Regions from separate parts of the Homo sapiens genome. Here region 2 is linked to region 1. The links are contacts of gene promoters, found by promoter capture Hi-C in human tissues and cell types (Jung and others, 2019). All regions are on one chromosome and are shown on one strand. The core of a region is centred on a gene start or on the middle of the fragment in contact, and the rest is flanking DNA. Distances in the headings are between cores, read along the strand shown.

Region 1 (5,470 bases), core at 1,272-3,771:
TTTTAATGAAAAAAAAAATTCAGCAATGAAACACATGTAAAATGGATACCCATAATTGAGATGCTTAAAGGTTTTAGGATAGGACTGCAATAATTGATTTTTAAGCTCTTATTTGGCAACAGGTAATCAAGAATTATAGCCCTCAGTAATTTGTAGAAGATTTGGGGAAATAATTTCTTATAGACATTAATTAATTGTAGTAGGTCCTGACTACTTTTTTTTTCTTGTCCTGTAACTTACATGAAATCGATGAAAATGTTTAGAGTAACATGAAAGAATAAATCACTCACTGTGATATCCAGGTATCTAAGAGTATAGTTTTTTACTATAAACAAACAGACAAACCAAGAAATATTAAAATCACCCCTTTACGAGAAACTTCAGTCATGAAATAGTTTTGAGGATTGTTCAGACTAATTATCTTTATAATGTAGGTCGTTACTTTTGTGGCCTGGCAGCATTCCTAATCTGGACAGGTGTTCAGAGTTCATGCATTTCAGTGTGAATGCTCATTTATAATAGACACAGCACAGGGAAAGTAAACTTCTACTGTTTTCCCTTACTGTCAGAACTGTTAAGCAATTAGAAATTCAAGGCATTCATTTAGTTGAGAATAGTGTTTTTATCCTTAATTCAATTTCCCTGATTTTATAGTGTATATAAATCACAAAGTATTTACATATAGTTTAAAAAAATATATTTTGCATCTTAACAAATGCACTTTTAAGGCTCTAATCACCAAAAAGCAGCTGAAACTCAATCAGGTTTCAAGGAAGTCATATAATCAGAGTCCCAAGATTAAAAGAAAAAAAATTGTAATTTCTTTACAGTTTTAAAATTTTGAAATGACAGGTAGACAATTACATATTTACATTTTAGCTTATAATAACTTCTTTAGCAGAATATATGGTTTAGAAAAAGAATCTCCAATGCCTGATTATCTCTTCTACTATATATTTTTTAACAAACTTTTCAGTTACACCAAAAATTAATATTTGCCTCAATGTTCAGAAATAATGCTTTTCTCAAGAAAATTAATTTAAAAAGAGGGTATATATAACTCCACCAAACTAAACTATAACAAATATCTCCAGAAAGAGATAAAAGTTTTATTTTATCTAAAACATTTTAGTAATGTAAGAATTCTTCATTTTAAAGACTATGAAGAAAATTAACTCATGTGACAAGCTCAAAATTAACATTATTTACACAAAGAAACAAATCTTCTGTTTTACCATCAAGATGATAAAGAAAAATGATAACAAAATTAGAAATGGTAGATACTGTGTTAACCAGAGAAAGAAAAAAAAGAGCTTATCTTAGGCAAGCCTCTTTATATGTTCAGTACTATTTTAAAAAGGAGCCTCCTTCAAACTTATATTTGAAATCTCCATCTTAAATATAATATTGATAGGAAGGTATGGATGAAGAAAAAGGGAAAAAAATTCCCTTCAGCTGAATATCGGATATTCTAGAGTTTCTCTGCCATATCATCCTGCTCTCTGGTGGTGAACAGCATTGCTCAGTAGTTGATAACATGAAATTTTCTAAGGGCAAAAAAAAAAAACAAAAAAAAAGTGTGTGTCCCAGATCAGTTGCACACATCTCAATATTTGATTTGTATTTTAATTTAATACAAATGTATTAAGAATGTAGCTGTTTGCATTGTCTAGAAGGGTTTTCTTCTAAACTCTTCCAGATTACATGTTGCTATATTTCAATATGTTTATAAAGAATATAGATACTAATACATTTTCGACATTAAATAACTCTGATGCTTAAACAGTATCCAGCTATTAGAAAAACTATTTGAAAAAGGATCTGAGTAAACCCCTTAAAGATGTAACTTTGCTTTTACCTGCCCCCACAAAATGGATATATTAAATAGAAGATATATCTGTTTTCTTTAAATTTAAAGTTTCTGTATTTGATACCTAGATTGATTCTTTCCATTTCCATTTAATTTTATTAATTGTATAGTTTTAAATAATGTCTATAAACTGCATCAAATAGAAAGCCTTTTGAGGATCATTACTGTGTAGATAGGCAGGTAGTTTAAAGTCTCTGATATTCCTTACAAAATTCTGTCAAGGCAACAGACATGTGTTCTGTTAAACAGATCTACTTCAGAATCATTATAAGTTGGTGAATATCTTAAACAATTACAAGAGGTCATTTCTTTAGTACCATAATCTTATGAAAGGGAAGCTTTAAAATCATCCCTGAATGAGACGGTCCTTTGTTTCACTTAATTTAATCAAAATACTCTATATTTCTTCTTCAAGAATAAAATGAAGCACTTGTTCAATCTTGAAATTTTTAGATTATTTGAAAGCAAAGTTGTTATCTCTTAAAAGCCCCTACATTTATGAGTGAGGCATTAATGCACAGTATAAATAAATAAATACACTTACCTGGAATTAAAGTTCAGAGCTGAAAATGCTTGAGAAAGTTGCAATAGATGGAAAAGAAACGGAAACAGTACCACTCGTTACCATCGGCTCAGGCTTTTTGACTTTACAAGTGGTAGCAACACCAGTCCTGGCCCAGTACTCTCATGTTATGTAACATCTTATTAATATTAGCCATCAAACTGCTACCAAGCTGGTGAGGCACTAGAGGGCAAGAGTGTCACATGCAAGACCCGTCGCCAAGGGACCGGCTTTGGTACCACTTCGGGGGAAGACAGATGCTAACTAAGCTGATGAATAACAGGATGCCCGAATACAACAGCAAACTTGTAACGTTCCTCAAAGAATATTTTACATGTCAATTTTCTGACTAGCGGAAGAGTTAACAGGTTAATAAATATGAGCAAGCAAATAACCACACCATGAAAAACTTTTAGGATTATATTTACAAACCCACAGTCACTCAAGAGGCTGTTTGTTTTTTTCTTTCCATTGTCTAAATAAACTTATTTAAAACAGGAGAAAAAAGCTGGTTAAATAAAACGAGTGTCGGTTTCAGGACTCCCTCATTCCAAGCCGCGAGAAACTTGTCTGGTCGAGATGCCGCCTCTGGAGTCCGCATTCCAAGGCGCCCGGATCGGGTTTCTGGGCGAGGAGACCGGCCCCGTCCTCCATGGAGATTACCTGGGGCTGCAGCCGTCCGCGGGCTCCTCCTTCCCTCGGGTCTTCGGCCTCAGCCGCTCCCCAGGGCCCCTCGTCCGGGTGGCGCTTGGGTGCTACGCGGTGCCCGGGGTCCGGCGGGGGCGACAAGCGGGCGACCTCTCCCCTCCGCGCCCGGGATCTGCGCGGACACAGCTGGTGGCGACTTCGGCCGCTCAGGCTGCGGCTGCGGGGCGAGCGCAGCGGGTGCGCCGGGGACTCCTGCGCTGGAGAACCACGGCCCTGGGACCCGCCCGGCCGCGCCTCCGCCGCCCTCGCCACCGCCTCCCGGGCGGGAGCCGCCGCCTCCCAGCTCCCGGCCCGCGCGCGCCCGCCCCGGGGAAGGGGAGGGAGCGGGAGCTGAGGACGGGAGCCGCCTCCATCGACCGGGCTCCCGCCCGGACCGGCCCTGAGGATCTGGCTGCCCGGGCCTCGACAAGGAGACCCCGGGGGTTCCGCCCCGGCCTGCCAGTTCCGACCGCCCCTCCCGGCGGGTTGGCGGCGGCCGCCAAGGATGAAACGTCTTGTGCGGCCAGGGAAAGGGGTGCGAGTCCCCGAGGCGACGCTGGAAGGGTGGGGCGCACCCGCGCGGTCCCTTCCTGTGGTGCTCCTGCCGTTGGCACTGGACCAGGGCGGCTGCGAGGCTGCAAGAGTTTCCTCTGTTCGCCAGTTTTTTTCAAATGCCATGTGTTTCAGCTCCTGAAGACAAGTGGAAGGCCAGCAACTGAAGAGATATTTTGGATTCAAGGTGTGAGGTTACCCTCTCCAGAACTATAGTTTGATTAGAAGTGTGAATCGAATGATATATATTTTTAAAAATTTCATTTGGTTCCACTAACATGTGAATTGTATTAAGTGGGGTCTACTAATGATACTTTGTATTGGCCATTTGTGGTTTTGCTTCCCAGCACTCACTCTTGTTGAAACAGTACTCCTGTTCATTTTGGAAGATCCAACCACTTGATCTCACCCCGCAGCCCATTTGCTTTAGGTGATGTCAGCCGCTGCTGACTCACTGGTAGACCCACAGCTCAGGTCTGGCCAGTGATGGCTTTCTGTCCTGGTAGCATGGGTAGGTATGTAACCCAGGTCTGGCCAATCAGAGAGAAAAACAGAAAAAAACCACCATTCTGGGACTTTTTTTTTTCCTTCCTCTCTTAAGAAAGTGGACTCTCTTCTACTGGACTTTGCATAATGAAGATGTGAGCTTAGAGCTTGAAGTCTGAAAATAAAGCTGATACTCAGGAAGGCAGAACTGAGAGTTGGAGAAAAGTGAAACCCAGATGGAGATTTTCGAGCTTGGAATCGAGCTGTAGCTGAAATAAGTTCTATCTCTGGATATTTTCATTCATAAACAAATACATTCACTTTTTTTTTTGATTCGGAGTCGCGCTCTGTCGCCCAGGCTGGAGTGCAGTGGCGTGATCTCAGCTCACTGCAAGCTACGTCTCCCGGGTTCCCACCATTCTCCTGCCTCAGCCTCCCGAGTAGCTGGGACTATAGGAGCCCGCCACCAGGCCCGGATAATTTTTTGTATTTTGGTAGAGACGGGGTTTCACCGTGTAAGCCAGGATGGTCTCGATTTACTGACCTCGAGATCCGCCCACCTCGGCATCCCAAAGTGCTGGGATTACAGACTTGAGCCACCGCGACTGGCCACATTCACTTTTGTCTTAAGGCAGCTTGGACTGCATTTGCTGTCCCTTGAAACTGAAAGAGACACAAACGATGATACAGTAATTAAATATTCTGGTTGTTTATTAACTTTATCAGGGTATTTGGATTCGTAGTTCAAGACCTTCAATTAGAACCCAATGTCCTGAAAGGGTTAGTTGGAATTGTGTTTTAAAATCAGGAAGTTATATATCCTTTTTGTTCTATGTGATGGAGGGGTTACAGATGTGACTGAACCAATTGCTCCTTCTGGAAGCCCACAAAAATGTCAGGATGCTAGAATTCTTTGGCCAAGTAACATGTATTAGATTGGTTTTATTTATTTTTTAGTTGGAGTGTTCCCTGGAAGTCTTGTGCCTTTTAAGAATTTTAAGAACCCACATTTATTTTTCTATGTACTCCTTACCCAAGAGAGAGCCTGCTCTGTCTTCCGAGCAGCCATGCATTCATCATTTTAGTAATCAAAAAAATTATTGAACACCTACTAAATGGCTCTGGGAATACAATAATATTGAAAAAAGAAAAGCAGGACCACTCTCTGCCCTTCAGTCGCTTATATTGATATAGCTGTAGGAGGTCAGGCTCTTCTACAAGATTTCAGAGAATAGACAAGATTCATGAATTCATAAATTCCTAAATGTTTCAGGGAATGTAGGCAGATTCAGAAATGATATTCACTTTTTCTT
Region 2 (5,470 bases), core at 850-3,349, 1.4 Mb after region 1:
AGTAAGTATGTTCTCTAAAATATCCCTAGCATATTTCTTATCTTTAAAATACACAATGGGCTTACTGTGTTGTTCTCCTTTCAGATAGCCCATTCATAGTATTGTGTCTGTATTTCATTATTTATTATTTGGGTGAATTTGAACAGATTACATAACCGTTGGAGCTTCAGTTTCATTATCTGTAGATTGGGCATAAAAGAATTAGCCTCAAAATTGAATGAGTTAATCCATGCAAGGAATTTAGAAAATGCCTATTATAGAAGTACTCAATAAGTTATTTTAATTACAAAGAAAAATGTTATTTATAGTAACCATGGATAATAGCTAATATAAATTATTTTTTTAATTGGTGACTAGCAAAACCTCGTAAGATATCACTCTTGGATTTTATTTTAAGCAGTTATTGTCCTGTCAGACTTTAGGTCAAAGGTTTCATATGACACAACTTTATATGTTTATATGATGGACAATTATTTATGTCAAGCAAACTGTATAAATGTGATTTGTTTGTTTTTTCCTCAGTGATATGGGTGTGTGTGTGTGTGTATTTCTCTTCCATATTTCTTGTCTTCAGAACACACTATGGGATAAATGTATTGTCCTCCATTCTAGGGGCTCTTCAATTAACTAGAAGAGTCACTTTTCAGATAGCCTGTGCATAGTATTGTGTCTGTGTTTCATTATTTATTATTTGAGTGAATTTGAACAGATTACATAACCTCTAGAGCTTCAGTTTCATTATATGTAGATTGGGTATAACAGATATAGCCTCAAAATTGGTTGAATTAATCCATAAAAGGAATTTAGGAAATGTCTATTAAATAAGCATATTAGATAAGTAATAAGCATTACTTTCATATAAGAAATTGGTACCACATTTATATAAGTAATAGGCATTACTTATATAATAAATAGTATATGTAGCTATTATATTATTAATATCTCTAAGTATATCTAAATATCTATCTATCCATCTCTCAAGGTTTTAGAAGATGGAAACAATTTTAAAAAACAAACAAAACATGCCTCAACCATCTCATTCTTTCAATTATTTTCTCCCTATTGTGGTTAATGGAAAGAAGTCACGTTTGGTTCTAATGGGGAAATAGAGGCTAAAATTTAGCAGATTAAAAGATGAAGTTAAAAGTTAAAATACCAAATATATGCACCTACTAGGTACCCACAAATATTTAAAACTAAAGAAAAGCAAGAGTTAAAATACCATGATTAGGGTATACCTAAAAATAAAAAGAGAAAAGAAAGTTATTACATACTAATAGATATCAAGCTGAATAAAACTGTCTCTCAAGCACAGGTATAGCAGTTGAGTTTGCAGAAGATTCATTGCATGTTCTGTTAAAGAGCAGCTGGACTATATTCTGATTCTCTCTGAAGGTTTGCTTCCAGGAACGTGCCATATGGATTGCATATTAGTTAAGGTTTTTTCTGGAACGTTTCCAGATGTCATTGCCCAAAGAATTTATGAGTCTTTACTGTAGCGCTAGTTAGACTTCTTTGTGGAACTAGAGAATAATTTTTTTAGTACTTCCCAAAGAACAAAAAAATAGAATATACTGGTGTTGGCAGACTAGTTTGTTGGTTGTTTTTGTTTGTTTGTTTTAGCATATTCAATCACCCAGGTTTTGGAGTTGTATAATTATTATATTAGAATAAAAATAAGTACTTATAAAATTGCATGTCATATATAATTGAAAGTATTTATAATTGTATCCTCCCTATTAGCAATTAAGTTGAAAAAATAAATATAATTTATTTTCTGAAACTGAAAGAGCCAAATGGCATTGACTCTGGCATAATGTACTATAACCCTCATCCATTTCTTCATGTTCTGATGCAGAGATCGAGATATTGGATGCCTGGGGAAGTCCAAGGCCTTTCTTCCATTTAGACACAGGTCTCCTAGATTGCTGATGTAATTAAAGAATAATCAAGGGTTTTTAGAAGATTTATTTTATAAAATCAAGTGGAAAGAATTTTTTTCTTGAAAGAGTTCTTGTTGAACAAATTTCATTCTTCATTTGTCTCAGCTCTTGCAATTCTATTATGAACAGTTGTAGGACTGTATTCTTTGTGACTCCCAGTTGAGTTCAATAATGGGCACGTGCTGACTGATTTGAAAATTAGCACTGGTATAATGTGACACTTCTTAAAATATCAGTATATATTTGTGACAGATTATTTCAATACTGTTAGAAAGTATGACTCCTGCTTTGAGAAGTAATTCATTGGATGTTTTAAACAACTCATATACATTTTAATATTGCTTTAGATATATCTATGTTTGTTGATAGAATATTGTCCTTCATGACTGAAAACTTAACTACTAATTCTCTAATTTCAAAATAATTTTAGCTATTAAAATTTATCAGCTAAAATAATTTCATATTTACCAGTTATAACCTGAAAAATAAGTGGTTCTTCATCACTTAAAAATTTCACGTAAAACAGAAATATTTTTATTTTTCTAAGTAAAAGAAAAATTAAAAGCTCAATGTAAGTGGGAAAAAAACAGTGCTCACTTTATGATGTGATGTGCAAGCTTAATGAATTTTATTTTCACTTCTGATATAAGTGGATCCTAGTAGTTTGTCTCTTAAAAACCCAGGAAACAATAACTCTCAAAGCCCTCTTCCTATTTTTTTCTGATTTTAAAGACATTTAATTTATTATTATAATTTTAGTTTTTAACTCATGAATTCTAGATTAGGCCATCATGTACAAATGAATGCTAGTAAGAAAAGATAGTTTGGGGTAAATAGGCAAAAGAAAATACTAGAAGACACATTAATTCACTTAATAGGTTATAAGGAAAAGTGAATTGGAGGTTTGTGTGGTAGTAAATGATGTCTGAAAAAATTCAGAAACTTCTCACTATGTAGAGACTTTTGTCAGAAGGAAATCACCTGTTTAACATTTATCAGACCTTCAGGGTACCTTAACAATACTATAATCCCTGGGATAGAAACACTGGTGGCTGCAGTAAAGGCGCAGAATCCTGCCTAAATCCATTTCCTCAAATCTCTCTTACTGAGCAAAAACCTTAAGCTTCTGTAGGTACAACAGAAAACGTTGCCTCCTTTGGGTACCAGTGAAAACCCATTGCAGCTGAAGAAAGGAAAAAGGAAAAATCTACCACTAAGACAGGGCAGGAATATGTGCTTGATCAAGAAGTAGAGCTGGGAAGTAGCAAGAACTCTGACAATGTCCTGCAAGAACATTGTCACTGTTGGACATTATAATTGTCCAACAGAGAAGTTGGATCAGAATACTAGAGCAGCACCCATAGTCCCAAAGACACCAGCAAACGTGGAGACACAACACAAGGGATATCTAAAACTGCAGATAGACCAAAGAGTGAGAATTGCGCTCTGGTAACTCAGGCTCCATTTTAAACATAGTGATCTTAGAAGAATTTGAGCCCAGTAACATAAATAAGCTCACCTTACTGACTCAAACTCCCATACTAAAGATCTAGCAAAGGGAAAAATTTGCCCATTTCAGGGCATAAATACTATTTAAATAAGCTTCAGCTATACTATACAAGATGTCTTCTGACAAAAACAATTATGAGTCATAAAAAATTGCAAGAAACATTACAAAATGATGTATTAAAAAAAGCAGAACAGAAGCAGACTTATATATATTGGGACTATCAGAGGTGAATTCATAATAACTATAATTAATATTTTAAAGGTTGTCATCAAATAAACTAAATGCAAGATCAGAGCAGTAATTTCTGCAGAAATATGGAAACTGAAAAAGAATCACATGTAATTGATAGAAATGCAAAACAGAGTAACCAAAATAAAAAAAAAATGTATTCTATGAGTTGATCAGTAGATTTTACAAAGCCATAAAAAGAATTAACAAATTTGAAGATAGGTTAGTAGAAATCACAGAAATAAAGCATAATGATAAAAATGGTGAAATAAAGTCTTCACAAAGAATCCGGGAGCCATGGAATAATATCAAATGATATAATAAATGTGTAATTAAAATCTCAAAGTGAAAGATAAGTGGAGAGAAGAAAAATTTGAAAGAAAAATAACCAATAATTTTCCAAAATTAATTTCAGACGTCTAACCTCAGATCTGAGGAGGTTAGAGAAAATCAAGATACATCACACACTGGGGCCTATTGTGGGGTGGGGAGAGTGGGGAGGGATAGCATTAGGAGATATACCTAATGTTAAATGATGAGTTAATGGGTGCAGCACACCAACATGGCACATGTATACATATGTAACAAACCTGCACGTTGTGCACATGAACCCTAAAACTTAAAGTATAATAAAAAAAGAAAGAAAGAAAAAATACCACACACAGGCACAGGCACACACACGTGCATACATACACGCACTCAGAAATATCATATTCAAACTGCTGAAAAATAGCAGTTGCCAAACTCCTCTCTAAGAAATATATATTTATAGTAGTATTTCTGTTATTTGTTTACACAGTCAAGTTTGAGATTTCAAAGAGACATTGAAGTGACATTGATTTCAGAGGTGAGAAGAGGAAAGTTCACCTTAGGAGAACTTGACTTGCTCAAATTGAAAATGGGTTTGACATTCTTAGACTAATCTGTAGTTAAGATATAATTATCATTCAAAATGTTAGAAATATCAGACAAGGACAACATATACAAATGTTAGAGAGCAATAGATAGCACAATTATGAAATACTTTAAAGGTAAAATGTGATGTAACATTAAATTTTAATAATTGGAAAATTTAAAAAGTATAATAGGATTTGAAATATTAAACAAAGGGTTCAAGTATGGATTACACACTGTAAAACACATTTGATAGAAAAGCCAGAATTCATTCCTCACTGAGGCTTCACAATTTTGGTCAGTCCCTTTTATCTAGCTTTTAATATATTTTTACTTTGTTATATTTATATAATCTCAATGTTATTAAATCTTAAAGTGCTATGAAATCTTTCAGATATAAATGTAGGCTGAAATATCTATTAGATGAAATACCTAGATAAATAAAATCAATAATTTAAGAGTAAGCTCCAGAGGAGCTCCTAAATATTTTCCCTAGTTTTAATTGTCTATAATTTTGTTTTCTTTATATGTAAATATTGTTTCTACAAATAGTTTTCCTTTCTTTCCAAATTTTGTTTCTTACTTTATAAATGATGTATTTTTCTCCATTTTAATACTTTGATATCACAACTCCATCATGATACTTACTACAGTCTTCATCACCAAATGACGTCGAAAAATGGTGACTCAATGATTATGAAGGACATTCATTTGAAGTTGATGCTGTTTGACCAATGAGAGCAATGTCAGTTATCTGAAGTTAAGATAAATCTGTTTATACTAATATTTTCTTTTGTTATAGAGATATGTGTTCTTCTTTGGGCATATAGCATTTCTAAATGAATTTTTATTATTCAAGTACTACAACTCATGTTATGAAGGAGAAGGAGAAGAA

Evidence for each region. Contacts are between HindIII fragments. The study calls those that stand out against the background at their distance.
Region 2: a fragment that was not itself captured here is called in contact with the fragment with the promoter of NDST3 in region 1 in 1 of the 25 tissues and cell types used here (mesenchymal stem cells).

Annotation. Positions count from the first base shown.
Region 1 is chr4:118,031,537-118,037,006 of GRCh38, reverse strand. It overlaps NDST3 (N-deacetylase and N-sulfotransferase 3), which reads right to left and starts at 2,521. Exons shown (of 14, transcript NM_004784.3): 1 at 2,415-2,521. The HindIII fragment of the contact is 9,214 bases long and covers 305-5,470 here.
Region 2 is chr4:116,581,440-116,586,909 of GRCh38, reverse strand. No RefSeq gene overlaps it. Among named protein-coding and RNA genes, the nearest start is that of MIR1973, 280 kb to the right of the region's middle. The HindIII fragment of the contact is 5,800 bases long and covers 1-4,999 here.